4 separate regions of the Homo sapiens genome follow, and regions 2, 3 and 4 are each linked to region 1. Evidence: promoter capture Hi-C in 16 types of primary human blood cells and fetal thymus (Javierre and others, 2016). All regions are on one chromosome and are shown on one strand. Each heading gives the region's core, a stretch centred on a gene start or on the middle of the fragment in contact. The rest is flanking DNA. Distances are from core to core; before and after follow the strand shown.

Region 1 (2,700 bases), core at 129-2,628:
ACATGGCAAAACCCCGTCTCTACTAAAAATACAAAAATTAGGTGGGCGTGGTGGTAGGTGCCTGTTAACCTTAGCTACTCGGGAGGCTGAGGCAGGAGAATCGCTTGAACCTGGGAGGTGGTGGTTGCAGTGAGCTGAGATCACACCACTGCACTCCAGCTAGGGCAATAGAATAAGACTCTGTCTCCAAAAAAAAAAAAAAAAAAAAAAAAAAAAAAAGCCAATCTTACTGCATTAAGTTTTTGAGACAAAAGCTTTTTTTGTCCGTATTGTGAGTTGATCAATAAGGAGACAGGAGCCTGGCTCAAATCTGTCTCTCTGTGTTGACTTTGAGGCACTATTTTTTATTAGAAAAGGTTTAGGAGGTGGACTTTAGGATTAGCAGGTGATAGGTGGAGGAAAGGGGAGGCCTGGAATGTCTCAGACATCTCTGTCTCACAAGAATTGATGTGAGCATTAAGTGAGGTGACCTAGGTAAAGTTGCCTAGGGCCTGGCACACAGGTGGTCAATAAATGTCTGTTCCCACACTCATCAATGTCTGCTCCGACCTCCATCGCGAATATGGGGTCATGACTACGGAAATCATACCACGATAGCTGTCCACAAAAAGGTTCACTCCCGAGGCCCACATTCTGCATATTGATATTCCGAACCACCTGAATCTCCCAGGTCTAGCCCACATTCCTCAAAGGGAAAACCCCAGCCAAAGTGCCGAGGTCACGAGCTGCTTTTTAAACAAGTCCCCAGGGAGAGCAGTTGGGGCCAGAGCCCCAGAGCTGACCTGGTCATTTTTTTGCATAATTGTAAGCAGGAATGCCATGACCTGATTTGTCTTTTAAAACTCTGGGTGGGAGACAGATGGTAGGGGAGAGGAAATTCCTCCCTTGTTCCTTTTCGATGTCTTAGAAGATGTTTATTAATTGGGGGCACAGCTCTACCCTCCCCTACACCCACTCACTGGGCTACTAGAAGGTGCTGTCTCGAAATAGCCCACCCAACCGCAGGAGCCCAGAGCCCACAAGCAGCTCAGGGACTTAGAACTGGTCCCACCCTTCCTCCGGGGACCCCCCCTCCTTAAGCTGCAGTCTGTGGGTGGGCTGCAAGTCCCGCCTCTCCACAACCAGCCCCACCCCTTTCTTCAAAACCCCGCCTCTCCGGTGAGGCCCCGCCCCCTCGAGGCTGCATCCCCGTCCATTGGGCGGCCGGCAGGAGGCGCCAGAGCACAGCCCGCCTTTTCTAGCAGGTTGGCCCCGCCCCTCTCCTGGAGACCCCGCCTCCTCGAGGCTTTCTTTCTGCCTATTGGGCGCCGAGGCCCAGCTCCAGCCCACCTGTTCTCCCCCGCCCCACCCTTTGTGGCCCCGTCCCCTTGAGGCCCCGCCCCGCCCGTTGCGCCGCCGGCAGGAGGCGCCGCGGCACGCGCGGGTCTGGGCGCCGGCCCCAGCCAACGGCGGGTGGGAGCAGCGCGGGAACGTGGCGGCGCGGCGGGTTGTGCCGGAGGTGAGTGTGGGGTGCGCGAGGAGTGACTGCGGAACCGGGGGTGGCTCGTAAGGGGCGCTGCTCGGCCGCTGCCGGGGACCTGGGGCGCGGAGGCCGCGGGGCGCGCTCGGGGACACTCCCGGCCGCTGGTCGGGGCGCGGAGGGCAGGTTTGCCCAGTTGCCATGGGAACCGACTGGCTGTCGGGCCCCGGCCTGGACCGGGGGGCGGTACCCGGAGGCCGGCTAGCGCGGGCAAGGGCGGCCCAGCCTGCGGGGATCCGGGGGTCCGCGCTGCCGACCCCCGAGAGCTCCTGAGCCTGGCTGTCCGCGTGGGCCCCGGACCCCCAACTCCAGGGGACTCTCGGCCCTCAGTTTTCCCGGCTGTGCCCTGGAGGGGGAGCTTCGTCCGGGGCGCGCAGCGGGGGAGCGGGGCGCAGCGGGGGAGCGGGGCGCAGGGTTCCGCGCGCTCTCCCACCTGGGCCGGCGAGACGTCCCCTGCACATACCCCGTCCCGGTTGCAGCCCGATCCCCACTCGTGCGCCAGCTCAAAGCATTGTTTCCCGGCTATTTATGTACCATTTCCAGCCCCTCGACAAATACTGCATCCAAGATAACAGATGCTGAGCCGAGCTCCTGGGGCCTCGCAGGAGGAGCCTGTTGGTGGGGTTGGCAGGGCCCTGGCGGGGCTGCGGACCATCCTGCCCTGCCCTGTCGCCTGTCAAGTGTTTGGCTAATCTGAATTGCACAGAAGAATCTGATTGCTCGTGTCCCGCGGTTAATATAGGCCACCTCTTGTGCATTCCAGACAGGAACCAGTCTTGAAAGTCCCTTTTGCTGGGGGGCAAGTCGGTCTCCTCTCCAGCAGCTAGCAGGTCAGAATTAAATCTGATTGAATTATGTTTGCATTTGAAAGCGTGGCTCGGGCTGGGGCTGTAAAGATAGGATTCATGGAAGGAGGGGAGAGAGCTGAGTGTGTAAAGTCTGCGCTTCGTTTTCCCTCCTGCTGGAAATGATAATGGGTTCCACATTGTCCTGTTGGAGCAGAGAGGTCGCTCCACCCATGTCGTCAGCGCAGCACTGACCTCACTCCCTGTACTCGCCGCTGGGACTTGAGCTTGTTTTTCATCAGAAACTGGACCCTTCCTTGAGAACAAGAGAAAACATTCTCTAAGAGCAGCACCAGCCAGCGCCCCACACCCTCGCTGTCCGAGCCCTGCGCTTTC
Region 2 (2,700 bases), core at 201-2,700, 250 kb before region 1:
CTGGAGTGCAGTGGCTCGATCTTGGCTCACTGCAACTTCCGCCTCCCTGGTTCAAGTGATTCTCCTGCCTCGGCCTCCCAAGTAGCTGGGATTACTGGCGCCCGCCACCATGCCCGGCTAATTTTGTATTTTTAGTAGAGATGGGGTTTCACCATGTTGGTCAGGCTGGTCTCGAACTCCTGACCTCAAGTGATCCACCCGCCTCCGCCTCCCAAAGTGCTGGGATTACAGGCTTGAGCCACTGTGCCTGGCCCAGAATTTTTTGTTTATAGATGTATGTTTACAAACTTATTACATGTGCTGTAGTTTGTAGTTGATGTATACAAACAAGAAACAGGCCAGGCACAGTGATGCATGCTTGTAATCCCAGCACTTTGGGAGGCCAAGGCGGGAGGATCACTTGAGGCCAGGAGTTCGAGACCAGCCTGAGCAACATAGCGGGACCCTGACTCTACAAAAAGCATATATATATGTTTTGGTTTTTTAGACGGAGTCTCACTCTGTTGCCCAGGCTGGAGAACAGTAGTACGATCACAGCTCACTGCCACCTCCACCTCAGAGGCTCAAGCGATTCTCCTGCCTCAGCCTCCCAAGTAGCTGGGATTACAGGGGTGAAACACCGCGCCTGGCCTCTACAAAAAATAAAAATAGGCCGGGCATGGTGGCTTACGCCTGTAATCCCAGCACTTTGGGAGGCTGAGGTGGGTGGATCACCTGAGGTCAGGAGTTGGAGACCAGCCTGGCCAACATGGTGAAACCCCATCTCTAGTAAAAATACAAAAAATTAGCCAGGCTTGCTGGTGTGTGCCTGTAATCCCAGATATGTGGGAGGCTGAGGCATGAGAATCACTTGAACCCAGGAGGCACAGGTCGCAGGAAGCCGAGATTACGCCACTGCACTCCAGTCTGGGCAACAGCAAGACCCTATCCCCTCAAAAAAGTTTTCTTATAATTTTTTGAGGGGGATGGAGTCTTGCTGTGTCGCCCAGGCTGGAGTGCAGTGGTATGGTGCAATCTTGGCTCCCTGCAACCTCTGCCTCCCAAGTTCAAGAGATTCTCCTGCCTCAGCCTCTTGAGTAGCTGGGATTACAGGCACATGCCACCACACCCGGCTGATATTTGTATTTTTAGTAGAGATGGGGTTTCACCATATTGGCCAAGCTGATCTTGAACTCCTGACCTCAGGTGATGCACCTGCCTCGGCCTCCCAAAGTGTGGTGATTACAGGCGTGAGCCTCTGTGTCCGGCCTGTTTCTTCAGAATAAATTTCTAGTAATTACATTTTTGGGTAATGGGTGGGGATTGTAGTAAATTGCACATTGGTTACTGAGACACAGATGCACATACTCATTAAGAAAAACTTCAGTCAGTCGTGGTGGTTCACCCCTGTAATCCCAAGGTTTTGGGAGGCTGAGGCAGGCAGATTGCTTGAACCCAGGAGTTTGAGACCAGCCTGGGCAATACAGTGAGACCCTGTCTCTACCAAAAAATTTAAAAATTAGCTGGGCATGGCTGGGCGCAGTGACTTACGCTTGTAATCCCAGCACTTTGGGAGGCCGAGGAGGGCAGATCACGAGGTCAGGAGATCGAGACCATCCTGGCTAACACGGTGAAACCCCGTCTCTACTAAAAATACAAAAAATTATTCAAGCATGGTGGTGCACGCTTGTAGTACCAGCTACTCGGGAGGCTGAGGCAGGAGAATGGCGTGAACCCGGGAGGCGGAGCTTGCAGTGAGCCGAGATAGCGTCACTGCAGTCCGGCCTGGGCGAAAGAGCAAGACTCTTGTCTCAAAAAAAAAAAAAAAAAAATATATATATATATATATATATATTAGCTGGGCATGTGACACACCTATAGTCCCAGCTTCTCTGGAGGCTGGGGTGGGAGGATCGCTGGAACCTGGGAGTCCAGGGCTGCATTGAGTCGTGATTGCATCACTGTGTTCCAGCCTGGGCGACAGAGTGAAACCCCATTTCAAAAAACAAAACAAAAATCCAAGTAAGGCCTCACAAGATTGAGTCTCTATGACATTTGTAAGGTGAGGGCTTTGCTTTGATAATGGGGACCCTTCAGAGGAGGTTTTCTCCCACCTGCGCCTGGGAGAGGGCGGGGGTGGTCCCAGCAGTTGATTGGGAGCCCAAGGGCAAGCGTGGCCTCTCATATCCTCTCTCCCCACCCTGATGTCTGCCTTCACAGGTGTCTGCTTTTCCAGAATAGAGAAGAAGAACTATGGCCCAGGTGAGTGTGGCATTTCTTTCTACTGCCCTTTTTAGCAGGGATTTCGGATGCTCATAAGAACATGACTGATAAAGGCTGGGCGTGGTGGCTCACGCTGGTAATCCCAGCACTGTGGGAGGCCAAAGTAGGCGGATCACCTGAGGTCAGGAGTTCAAGACCAGCCTGGCCAACATGGTGAAACCCTGTCTCTACTAAAAATACAAAATTAGACAGGTGTGGTGGCACGAGCCTGTAATCCCAGCTACTCAGGAGGCTGAGGCAGGGGAATCACTTGAACCCAGGAGGTAGAGGTTGCAGTGAGCTGAGATCGTGCCATTGCACTGCAGCCTGGGTGACAGAGTGAGACTCTGTCTTAAAAAAAAAAAAAAAAGGGTATCCGATAAAACAAAATACAAACGGAAATCAGGATCGGTGAAAACAGGAAGAGAATGGAAGATCAAGGTTGTGGGAAGGGCAGGG
Region 3 (2,700 bases), core at 72-2,571, 200 kb before region 1:
AAGTTCAAGACCAGCCTGCCCAACATGGTGAAACCCCGTCTCTACTAAAAATACAAAAAATTAGCTGGGCATGGTGGCAGATGCCTGTAATCCCAGCTACTTGGGAGGCTGAGGCAGGAGAATGGCTTGAACCGGGGAGGTGGAGGCTGCAGTGAGCCGAGATCATGCCACTGCACTCCAGCCTGGGTGACAAGAGTGAAACTCCATCTCCATCAATCAATCGATCAATCAATGGGACCCCAGAGAGCTCCCTCTTTTTCCACCACATGAAGACACAACTAGAAGTCTGTGATCTGGAACCCAGAAGAGGACCCTCACCAGAAGCTGACCATGTACCCTGATCTCAGATCTTCAGTCTCCAGAGTTGTGAGAAATAGATATCTATTGTTGATAAGGCAGCCAGTCTATGGGACTTTGTTATGGCAGCCGAGACTGTCAAAGACAGCTCTAGAGGGGCTATGTGTCCAGGAGGGGATGAATCAGTCTTTTACTTCTTCTTTTTAAGACAGGGTCTCGCTCGGTCACCCAGGCTGGAATGCAGTAGTGTGATCTCAGCTCACTGCAACCTCTGCTTCCTGGGCTCAAGCGATCCTCCCACCTCAGCCTCCCAAATAGCTAGGACTACAGGCACGTACCACCATGCCCAGCTAGTTTTTGTAATTTTTGGTAGAGACGGGGTTTCGCCATGTTGCCCAGGCTGGCCTTGAACCTCTGAGCTCAAGTCATCTGCCCACCTCGGCCTCCCAAAGTGCTGGGATTACAGGCATGAGCTGCCGCGCCCACCCTCTCCTTTACTTCTCAGCTGTGAATGTTCTCCCATATCCTCGGACTCCCAGCCTGCTCCCAGGCTTCACAGTCCTATCTGATGAAGTAGGGGAGCACCAGCCACCCCCTTATCTCTCTAGCTCAGTCTATCCCCTCCAGGGGCTCTGGACTTCTCTCCAGGGCAGCCTGACCTAGGGGCGACACAGGAGTTTCCTTGACACTGGTACTATCTCTGAACATCTCTGCCTCCATCTCTGTTTTGAGGCTGGTCCATGGAGTCAATGAAGGGGTCCCCTCCTCTCCCCCAAAACCCTCATCTTAGCTCCTGCTTTTCCCAGGCCCTAAGATCCTGGGGGCAGGTCTTGTAGAGGGGGAGCCCTTGTGGGGGGCTTCAGGTACCCGCACTCTTTAGGAACAGGCACAGGTCTTGATGTTGCAGGCACAGGTCTGGATATTGATGGGAAATTGCGGTCAGAGTGGACAGCACCACCCATTCCCGGCATCTCCCATGATTTGGTCTTCAAGCCTTCACCTCATTCTCTGCCCACCTGGATCTTGTCAGCCCCAGAGAGAACCTGAGTCCAGAGGAGAAGCAGAACCCAGGCCACTGGGCAGTGGCAACCGCACAGACACCGACATCCCTGGGAGAGCCTGAGCCCACCGCCCAGAGCTCAGAGCCTGGAATAAGCAGCCCAGCGAAGAGCCCCGCTCCACCGCCCAGAGGAGCACCAGAGTGAGCTCGGCCTGGAACCCAGAGACCATCTTCAAAATCTCATCCCCAACCTCTCATAAATGCCACCTTGTCCCTGGCCCCCCTGTAATTACTTCAGCCCCTTGTTCCCTTCACAGCAGTAATTTTTTTTTTCTTTTTGAGACAGAGTCTGCCTCTGTTGCCCAGGCTGGAGTGCAGTGGTGCAATCTCGGCTCACTGCAACCTCCGCCTCCCGGGTTCAAGCAATTCTCCTTCCTCTGCCTCCCAAGTTGCTGGGATTATAGGCCAGCACGCCAGGCTAAATTTTTTTTTCTTTTTTTGAGACGGAGTCTCACTCTGTCGCCCAGGCTGCAGTGCAGTGGCGCAATCTCGGCTCACTGCAAGCTCTGCCTCCCGGGTTCAAGCGATTCTCCTGCCTCAACCTCCGGAGTAGCTGGGACTACAGGTGCCCGCCACACGCCCGGCTAATTTTTGTATTTTTAGTAGAGACAGGGTTTCACCGTGTTAGCCAGGATGGTCTCGATCTCCTGACCTCGTGATCTGCCCGCCTGGGCCGCCCAAAGTGCTGGGATTACAGGCGTGAGCCACCGCGCCCGGCCGATTATTTTAATAAGATGATTGAACATCTTCCTTATTAGATTGTAACCCACAAGGGCATTTATGTTGCCTGCGATGTCCCCCGGTCCTAGGGCAGCCCACCTGCTGATGCAGTTCTGAGTGCTGCCACCAGGGGGCAGGGCTGCCTCGCACTTGTCATGGGGACAGCGGCAGGACCCTCAAGAGGGCTTTAACTTGGTTGGGTTCGTATCTGCACCGGGCCATATCTGCACCTGGGAATACTCCACTCCCTCCCTGAGGTGTGAGTGGGGATGCTCCCAGCTCCAGGAGACACAGCTGTGGTGTCGCTGGCCAGGGTGCAGCTTTCTAGAGAGGTTCCATTTTCACACCTCCAAGTTCAGACCTTTTCTTTCCCTCTGCAGACTGGGGCGAGCGACCACCCAGCCCAGTGTAGAGGGGGTCTCATGTCTTACCACTCTTCATTTACACTTTTTTTTTTTTTTTTAAAGACGTCGGGTTAGCTCACCCCTGTCATCCTAGCACTTTGGGAGCCCCAGGCAGTCAGATCACGAAGTCAGGAGATGGAGACCATCTTGGCCAACATGGTGAAACTCCATCTCTACTAAAAATACAAAAATTAGCCGGGCATGGTGGCGGGCGCCTGT
Region 4 (2,700 bases), core at 84-2,583, 220 kb before region 1:
AGTGCTGGGATTACAGGCATGAGCCACCATACTGGACCATTTTCCCCATTCTTATACATACCTCTCCAATATCACAATGACCTTTTCCCACCTGGAAATTTACTCATTCTTCAGGCCCAGATGAAACGTCAGCTCCTCTGTAAACAAAAGTAAGAGCGGAGTCAACTGTAGAAGGATTTTGTAGGAAATGGGAGGAGACGGACTCTACCACACCTTTCTCCCTTATCTCTGTCAATCTTTCAACTTCTATTCCCAGTAAGAAGGGAATACTTATACTCTTAATAAGAAAATAGTTACTTAATAGGTTTCCCAGGGCCCACTTAAGGGTCTGGCTTGATCCAAAGCCCCAGGGCCTCATTACTGATCTTCTCCCCCAACACTGTGGTGCCTAAGTGACAGGATGGTCTCTGAAGGATGAGGGCTGGAGGGATGAGAGGGAGTGGAAGAGTTGGGAATTCAAAACTGCCGAATCCTGGGGGAATCTGAAACTTCTGGGCTAAGGGGATAAGAGGCCACCTCCCTGCAGTGATGAAGAGACTGTACAAGTCTTGGGATAAACTTGAACCTAGGAAATGAATAGCCAAAATACCTATCTCCAGAGAGGTAGGCAGCTCTCTGGAGAGAGGAGAGGAAAGTTACAGCTCTGTCCACATTTTCTTAAAATGTAAACCAAAGGGTGGCCAGAAGACGGATGATCTCAGAGTGGACTGATTCTTGGTGTAATGTGATCAAGATGGTGGACTAGGAGGTCCTAGCCCTTGTACTCCCACAAAAACAATGATTTAACAACTATCCACAGACTAAAATAGCTCTGGGAGAACTCCCAGAGTCCAGTTAAAAAGATGCAGCCACCGAGTAGAGCAGAAAAGCCAAGAATAACTGCATAGAAAAGAAACATGACATCACCAAAGGAACACAACACATTTCAAATGACCAACCCCAAAGAAAAGGAGATCTATGAATTAACTGAAAAAGAATTCAAAATAACTGTTTTAAAGAAGCTCAGCATGTTACAAGAGAACACAGATACAACTCGTCAAAATCAGATAAACAATATATGAACAAAATGTAAAGTTCAACAGAGATACAGAAATCACAAAAAAAGAAATTCTAGAGCTGAGGTGAACAAGGACTAAAATGAAAAAATGCCATTTAGAGCTTCAACAGCAGTGGCTTATGCTTGTAATCTTAGAACTTTGGGAAGCTGAAGCAGGCAGATTGCTTGAGGCTAGGAGTTCAAGACCAGCATAAGCAACACGGCAAAACCCTATTTAAAAAAAAAATTTTTTTTTAAATTATCAGGGTATGGTGGTGTACACCTGTAGTCCCAGCTACCCAGGAGGCTGAGGTGGGAAGATCACGTGAACCCAGGAAGTCAAGGCTGCAGTGACCCATGATTACACCACTGCACTCTACCCTGGGTGACAAAGTGAGATCCTGTCTCAAAACAAAACAAAACAAAAAATCAATGAACATGAAGATGAAGATAAGTCATTTGAAATCATTTAGTTAGAGGAGAAAGAGAGGCTACAGTGAGCCATGATCATACTACTGCACTCCAGTGGGAAACAGAATGAAGGAGGGAGTGATGAGAAATTGGTTAATAAGTACACAAATACAGTTAGATAGAAGGAATAAGTTCTTGTGTTTCATAGCACAGTTGGGTGACTATAGTTAGCAATAATTTATTGTATATTTCAAAATCGCTAGAAGAAAATATTTAAAATGTTTCCAACACAAAGAAATGACAAATAGTTGAGGTGATGGATATCCTAATTACCCTGATTTGATCAATACACATTGTATGCATGTAGTAAACCTTGAGGCCAGGGTTTTGAGACCAGCCTAGGCAACAAAGCAAGACCCTGTTCCTGCGGGGAAAAAAATTAAACAATTAACCAGACATGATGGTGTGCACCTGTGGTCTCAGCTACTTAGGATGCTGAAGCAGAAGGATCACTTGAGCCCAGGAGTTCGCAACTGCAGTGAGGCAGGATCACACCACTATACTCCAGCCTGGGTGACACAGCAAGACTTCGTCTAAAAAAAAAAAAGTTGGGCTAGGTGCAGTGGCTCACACCCATAATCCCAGCACTTTGGGAGGCTGAGGTAGGTGAATCACAAGGTTAGGAGTTCGAGACCAGCCTGGCCAATGTGGTAAAACCCTCTCTCTACTAAAAATACAAACAATTAGCTGGGCATGGTAGTAAGTGCCTGTAATCCCACCTACTCGGGAGCCTGAGGGAGGAGAATCGCTTGAATCCAGGAGGTGGAGGTTGCAGTGAGCCGAGATCGCGCCCCTGCACTCCAGTCCGGGCGACAGTGGGAGACTCTGTCTAAAAAAAAAAAAAAAAAAAAAAAAAAATTCAGCCGGGTCTGGTGGCTGACACCTGTAATCCCAGCACTTTAGGAGGCCGAAGTGGGCAGATCACCTGAGGTCAGTAGCTTGAGACCAGCCTCACCAATGTGGTAAAACCCTGTCTTTACTAAAAATACAGTATTAGCTAGGCGTGGTGGCACGTGCCTGTAATCCGAGCTACTCGGGAGGCTGAGGCAGGAGAATCACTTGAACCTGGGAGGTGGAGGTTGCAGTGAGCCAAGATCGTGCCAATGCACTCCAGCCTGGGCAAAAAGAGCAAAACTCCATCTCAAAAAAAAAATCTCATCAAAGAAGAACCACAGATTCACTGCTGAATTCTA

What was found. The method cuts DNA at HindIII sites, captures the fragments that hold promoters and counts their contacts. A CHiCAGO score of 5 or more calls a contact.
Region 2: a contact is called between a fragment that was not itself captured here and the fragment with the promoter of RADIL in region 1, in 1 of 17 cell types (M2 macrophages). The highest score is 5.5, in M2 macrophages.
Region 3: a contact is called between a fragment that was not itself captured here and the fragment with the promoter of RADIL in region 1, in 7 of 17 cell types (megakaryocytes, erythroblasts, endothelial precursors and 4 more). The highest score is 18.5, in megakaryocytes.
Region 4: a fragment that was not itself captured here is called in contact with the fragment with the promoter of RADIL in region 1 in 2 of 17 cell types (M2 macrophages and endothelial precursors); the score reaches 6.2 in M2 macrophages.

What each region holds. Positions count from the first base shown.
Region 1 is chr7:4,882,394-4,885,093 of GRCh38, reverse strand. It overlaps RADIL (Rap associating with DIL domain), which reads left to right and starts at 1,378. Exons shown (of 15, transcript NM_018059.5): 1 at 1,378-1,498. RefSeq lists a silencer at 1,347-1,566 and enhancers at 1,276-1,963, 1,964-2,652, 2,382-2,676. The HindIII fragment of the contact is 2,924 bases long and covers 257-2,700 here.
Region 2 is chr7:5,131,989-5,134,688 of GRCh38, reverse strand. It overlaps the pseudogene ZNF890P. Among named protein-coding and RNA genes, the nearest start is that of WIPI2, 57 kb to the left of the region's middle. The HindIII fragment of the contact is 6,666 bases long and covers 1-2,700 here.
Region 3 is chr7:5,085,125-5,087,824 of GRCh38, reverse strand. No RefSeq gene overlaps it. Among named protein-coding and RNA genes, the nearest start is that of RBAKDN, 14 kb to the right of the region's middle. The HindIII fragment of the contact is 5,458 bases long and covers 1-2,700 here.
Region 4 is chr7:5,101,250-5,103,949 of GRCh38, reverse strand. No RefSeq gene overlaps it. Among named protein-coding and RNA genes, the nearest start is that of RBAKDN, 31 kb to the right of the region's middle. The HindIII fragment of the contact is 4,338 bases long and covers 1-2,700 here.